2 separate regions of the Homo sapiens genome follow, and region 1 is linked to region 2. Evidence: promoter capture Hi-C in 16 types of primary human blood cells and fetal thymus (Javierre and others, 2016). All regions are on one chromosome and are shown on one strand. The core of a region is centred on a gene start or on the middle of the fragment in contact, and the rest is flanking DNA. Distances in the headings are between cores, read along the strand shown.

Region 1 (3,137 bases), core at 38-2,537, 280 kb before region 2:
ACAAAGAAGACACATTTTTAAGGCGGTTGATTGACGGAAGGAAAAGACTGAAAAAACGAAAACAACAAGCCAAAAACCCCAAACCCAGAGATACCCATACATGACATAAAGTTAAGGCCTTTTTAAAAAGTAATAATAGAGGAGAAATTTTAAATGTCCATCAGCAGAGCTTGAGGCCATGCAGTTTTTAGGTTGTTGCAGTCAGAGTGTACACACAACCCTGCATCCTTAGTTATGGCATAATAATTTTTCTCTGTTGCTATAGAATCTCCACAGCCGTCATCTCTCAGCAATGGTTGTAGAATGTTCCATTAGACAGCTGTGCCACAATTCACTTAACCCTTCTCTTGTTGGATATTAAAACTACTTTCTAGTGTTTGACCACCAAAATATATCTCTGCAAGGAATAATTTTGTGCTTAGAGCTTTTCCTGTAGGAGTAGGGGTGGGTGGATATCGATTTAGGAGCAGAATTACCAGGAAAATGTCATAAACATGTTTTAGGCTCTTGTCGACCCGCTTTCCTGAAAGGGATCATACCCGTTGACATCAGAAGCCAAGTCCGAAATCAAACCTGGTGGACTCCGGGTCTTGTCTGTCTCCAGGCTGGTTTTAATTTCCGTATCCTGCAGCAATGCAGAAGTTTATTATTAGTTCTGACCTTTGGGGCAAGGCAAACACACACCAAAGGTTCGGGGACAACTTTAGCAACTGCAACAGCTGACATTGTGAGCGGGTGCAGCTCAGGTTTCAAGCTTGAGCAACTGGGTTGGATGAACTTGCCTCACTGAGACAGGGAATCTGAGAAGAGGAACAGGTTTGGGAGGGAGCAGATGAGATCAGTTTTAAATACATTTAGTTCGAGGTGCCTTTGGGACATCTAAAGGGAGGTATCCAGGAGACAGGCATACATACGGATAAACAACAGTTTTTGCCCTTCTCTGAACTCCCAGAGCTCCCTATCTGTGGATTTCTCATGGCTCAGTTTGCCTTTTACCTTTTACTATCCTCAGAGCTCCTTGAGGCCAGGATAAGGGCCTCATTCATTTGTGTATCCTTCCTCCCAGTGCCCAGTACAGTGCTTTATACCTAGAAGGCCATAAAAGTCTGTCCTGTATAATGAAATTTCATTGATTTCTTAATTGGATGATTCCTGCAGTAGGGGTCCTGATCTGGGTGAAAAAGTTTGGGAACCTTAAGAGTTCTGGGAAGGCTTCCTGTAAGAGGTGGCATAATGTTACCGTGAATAATTATGACTATTTGTTGAACACCTGCCATGTTCCAGTCACTCTGCTGCACACATGCATCAGAGATGCCACCACTATCTTTGATGGCCACTGGCCATCTTTACATCCCCTTCTGGGAGCACTGGCTCTACTTACAGCTCCTACCAAATGATCAAGCAAGGACTAACTATGTATTACATCCACCCTTCCTTTAGGATACAGCACCTGATCCAAGGCCAGCCCACAACCTGTGAGTTGTATGGCCCAGCTTTAGAAGATGAGGTGGGCCAATCAGATTGCTCTCTTGGGAATGTGAAATAAGAGATCCAGAGGAGAGTTGCCAGTTAGTTGTGGGGAGCTGAGCTGACAGGTCCAGTAGACCAGGATGCTGGGTAGGTGGGTGCAGCATTATGAATCAGGTCAAGTGCCTGTTAAAATCCTGGGGGAGCAGTTCAAGGTGGTTGGCTGAATGAGGAAGCTGGGGCAGATGTACAGAGAGAAGCAGACATGTAGTGCAGATGAATTACATTAATGGTAAAGCTCCAGAGCAGAGGGTCCATGCCTCATCCAGAAATTTCCTGCAGCTCCAGGCTTAATAAGCTTTATCTGTACTTCACTTCCTGCCCTTGGATTTCTGATTCGTGATCTAGCTTCACTGGGTTTCTGTTCCTTGCATCCAAAAGAGTCTTAACAAAAACAGCCTTTTAAATAGGTTTAATTTAATTTGCACTTCGGCCCTCTGAGGTGAGTGTACTTTTCCTCATTTTACAAGTGAAGAAACTGAGGCTTAGTGAGATTAACTTGACTAAGGTGACACAGCCAGTGATGGAGCTGGTCTGTCAGATTCTCTTAATCTTTTTTTTAAAAGCATTAATATGTTATTTTTATTTTTAAAAATGACCACAAGCTTGTCATATAAAAACAAAAGCAATCAATACAGACATAATCTGATCTGAACATCAATCAGCTCCTTCGACTCTTCCTTTCATTTATTTCCTTTCAATGTAAAGGAATGTAGCTCCAGCTACATTGGCCTCTGTTTCCAGAACACGCCAAGGTTGTTCTCACCTTTGGTCCTTTATACTGAGTGTTCCTTCTCTTTATTTAAAAAAAAATTTTTTTTCCTTCGCCAGCTTTAAACAGAGAGTCCCTTCTCTTTGTAATGCTTTTCCCCTTGCTTTTCCAGTGGCTGGCTCCTTCTTGTCATTGTCTTCACTCAATTGTCACTTCTTCAGAGAGGACTTTGCCAAACCACGCAGTATGAAATAGCCCACACAACTCTTGGCCCCACTGCTTTCTGTCATATAAACTCCTTTTTATTCCCTGCATAGCCCTTGTCACTGTTTGAAATTGCGTTGCTCATTTATGTAATTGTTTATTGTCTGCCTCCTCTTCAGAAATGAGAACAGAAGCCTTATCTGTATCCTGAGGATCTAAAACTGCTGGTATGTAAGTTCAATCAATATTTGTAGAATAAATGAATGTATAAACTAAAAACAAAGTTCTCATCCAATGCTTTTCTCTCCTAATACCAATCTCCAGAGACAGTAACTGTTAACAGTTTTGTCTACATCTTCCCATTTTCCATGCATATACAAACAAGCATGTATCTTTCTGCATAAAGATAAATATGAATATATGCTTTTGTTTACACCAATGAAAGTTCTATAATTGCCTTTTTCATATAACACTTAACATCTTCCTGTACCAATACATATACATCTACCTTATTAAAAACAAGACAAAACAAATTCATATTATTACAATGTATGGAGTTACCAGAATTTATTTAATTGGATGTCTTTTAGTGGTTATTTTTTTCTAATTTTTTGTTTTTATGTGTTGTAATATTGAAATAAATATTCTTATTATATATGTATTTGCACAAATGTCTCCCACACCCATTTGTTGT
Region 2 (3,263 bases), core at 764-3,263:
GAGAAAATTTTTGCAACCTACTCATCAGACAAAGGGCTAACATCCAGAATCTACAATGAACTCAAACAAATTGACAAGAAAAAAACAAACAACCCCATCAAAAAGTAGGTGAAGGACATGAATAGACACTTCTCAAAAGAAGACATTTATGCAGCCAAAAAACACATGAAAAAATGCTCACCATCACTGGCCGTCAGAGAAAGGCAAATCAAAACCACAATGAGATACCATCTCACACCAGTTAGAGTGGCAATCATTAAAAAGTCAGGAAACAACAGGTGCTGGAGAGGATGTGGAGAAATAGGAACACTTTTACACTGTTGGTGGGACTGGAAACTAGTTCAACCATTGTGGAAGTCAGTGTGGTGATTCCTCAGGGATCTAGAACTAGAAATACCATTTGACCCAGGCATCCTATTACTGGGTATACACCCAAAGGACTATAAATCATGCTGCTATAAAGACACACGCACACATATGTTTATTGCGGCATTATTCACAATAGCAGAGACTTGGAACCAACCCGAATGTCCAACAACGATAGACTGGATTAAGAAAATGTGGCACATATACACCATGGAATACTATGCAGCCATAAAAATGATGAGTTCATGTCCTTTGTAGGGTCATGGATGAAATTGGAAATCATCATTCTCAGTAAACTACTGCAAGGACAAAAAACCAAACACCGCATATTCTCACTCATAGGTGGGAATTGAACAATGAGAACACATGGACACAGGAAGGGGAACATCACACTCTGGGGACTGTTGTGGGGTGGGGGGAGGGGGGAGGGATAGCATTAGGAGATATACCTAATGCTAAATGACGAGTTAATGGGTGCAGCACCCCAGCATGGCACATGTATACATATGTAACTAACCTGCACATTGTGCACATGTACCCTAAAACTTAAAGTAGAATAATAATAAAATAAAATAAAAAAGACTTGTTTTTGGCCTAACTTATGATCTATCCTGGAGAATTTTCTATGTGTGCTTGAGAATATTATATATTCTATTGGATAAAATATTCCGTAGGTCCTTTTTGTCTAAAGTGTATTTCAAGTTCAATGTTTCCCTATCGATTTTCTGTCTGGATGATCTGTGAATTGTTGAAGATGGGGTCTTGAAGTCTCCTACCATTATTGTATTGCAGTCTACTTCTCCCTTCAGATCTATTAATATTTGTTTTATATATTTAGGTGCTTCTATGTTGGGTGCATATATTAAATATGTTTATAATTATTCGATATTCACGATGAATTTATCTCATTATCATTATATAATGACCTTTAAGATCTTTTATGGTTTTTGACTTTAAGTCTATTTTATTTGACATATGTGTAGTTATCCTTGCTCTCTTTTGAATGATTGATGGAATAGATAAATGTCATGAATTGTTTTCTGCATGGGGGCACAGTGCACCATGTCACAAGAGACAGTCTAAGTACAAACTGATATTGTTAAAACATCAATATAGTCATTGTGGGATCAATAAAAACTTTTCATAGATTTTTATACATTACTGTTTTTATTCTGAATTGCATAAGATGGACGGGCACCCTATCTTTTAGTGTTTAGAACCTCTAAATGTTTTAATGTGGTAACACTTGAAAAACAGAAATGAATATGACCTAGTCCCCTGCTCCAGAGCAGCTCTAGGGAAGAGAGACATAGACACAAGGTATAACAACACTATGTAAATAGTGTTGGGATAGAGGGTCTGTAGGAAGGGTTGGTGTGGGAGTTCAGAGAACTACATTCCTCCTAGGGGAAACAGGAGAATCAAATAGGAACGGAGATACAGAGTGGGGAATAGAGAAGTCAAATGGAGAATAAGAGGGAGTGATAACTGAATAGGGGTAGTAAGAAGAAAAAGGGAGCTACATTGAGGAGAATGGAAAGTTGAAAGTAGGTATGGAGGGGAGGAGACTGACAGGCAGGAACGGAGACCCCCCTCTGGAGGCGGAAAGAGGCAGGACCACTTCCGGCCAGGGAGGGGGATAGGCTCAGACACAAGGAGAGGCTTGGAGAGAGCAGACGCCTTCTGGATTCAAGAAGACGAGGTGAGCTGAGGTACCTGGCTTTAGTGAAGACCCTGTGGGGGCTTCCTGGCTGCGGCTTCGACGTGCCTGACTCCACACGCCCCTAAGGTTTGAAGAAAACCTGCTGGAGGTTTGGGACCTAACCGCATCAAAGTCGCCTTTAGCGGTGCCTGGACCCAGTTCGCACGGGAGGAAGTAGGAGGCAGAATCCCCTTTGGGCCACAGAAAGTAACGATCTGGACTCGGTTCGGGCCGTGAAAGGGAGGGATGCAGACCTAGTTGGGACCGCAGAAAGGAAGGATCGAGAAATCCTTCAGACGGTAGCAAGAGGGGAGGAGGATACACACAGTTCGGGAGGGAGATAGGAGACGGCAGGACTCCGTTTAGGCTGGAGAAAGGGGGCAGTACCCCGTTTGGGCCACAGAATGGAGGGATCGGGACCCAGAGATAAGAGTGGGCAGCATCCCTTTTGAGCAACGGAAAGGACCAGACTCAGACAGGAGAAAGGAGGGGATATGACCCGGTTGGTTCCGGTTTGAAAGGGAAGAGACAGGACCTGGTAGGGTTTGAGAACAGGAATACACAGAAGGTTCATACAGTTGGATTTGGGGGTGAGGTATTCATGTTGCAGAAAGGGCGGAGCTGCACACTTGCAGACGTGGAAAGAGGGGGGAGTGGTGTTGGTTGGGGAAGGGGTGGTGCAGAGACGTACCGCAGAGCGGAGGGAGGGGGCTTATTAAAGGAAGGGAAGATGAAGAGAAATGCTGCAGAGCGGAGGGAGGGGGGTGTATTGGGAAGGGGCGGTGCGTGGCAGTACCGCAGAGGAGAGATGGGCGGTGTTGGGGTAGGGGCGGTGCGGAGTGGTACTGCAGAGCGGAGGGAGGGGGCTAGTGTTGGGGGAAGGGTTGGATCGAGATGTGATGCAGTTAGAAAGAGTGGGTCGGGGTGGCGCCAAGATGTTCTGTTGCTCTGAGAGCAGGGGGCAGATGTGGGATTGAGCTGGTTAGAAACTGTCCGGTTTACCAAGGCGCATGCGCGCGGAGGGCATTGAAGAATGGTTCTTTTGGGATAGAGGTGGGCCTAAGATGGGGGGTGGGGGCGCCTCTAGTCGGTGCGCATGCGCACTATCGAGTTGCGGAGGGGGCGTGTAAAGGGGTGGGGTCGTAGAACTGACTCTCTCGGAGGCAAAAGGAGCTGGGCCTTGGAAACCAGATGG

What was found. The method cuts DNA at HindIII sites, captures the fragments that hold promoters and counts their contacts. A CHiCAGO score of 5 or more calls a contact.
Region 1: a contact is called between a fragment that was not itself captured here and the fragment with the promoter of TRO in region 2, in 1 of 17 cell types (fetal thymus). The highest score is 6.1, in fetal thymus.

Annotation. Positions count from the first base shown.
Region 1 is chrX:54,640,206-54,643,342 of GRCh38, forward strand. It overlaps a transcript of GNL3L not described here. Among named protein-coding and RNA genes, the nearest start is that of GNL3L, 110 kb to the left of the region's middle. The HindIII fragment of the contact is 1,071 bases long and covers 753-1,823 here.
Region 2 is chrX:54,918,811-54,922,073 of GRCh38, forward strand. TRO (trophinin) reads left to right here and starts at 2,014. Exons shown (of 13, transcript NM_001039705.3): 1 at 2,014-2,068. The HindIII fragment of the contact is 6,316 bases long and covers 1-3,263 here.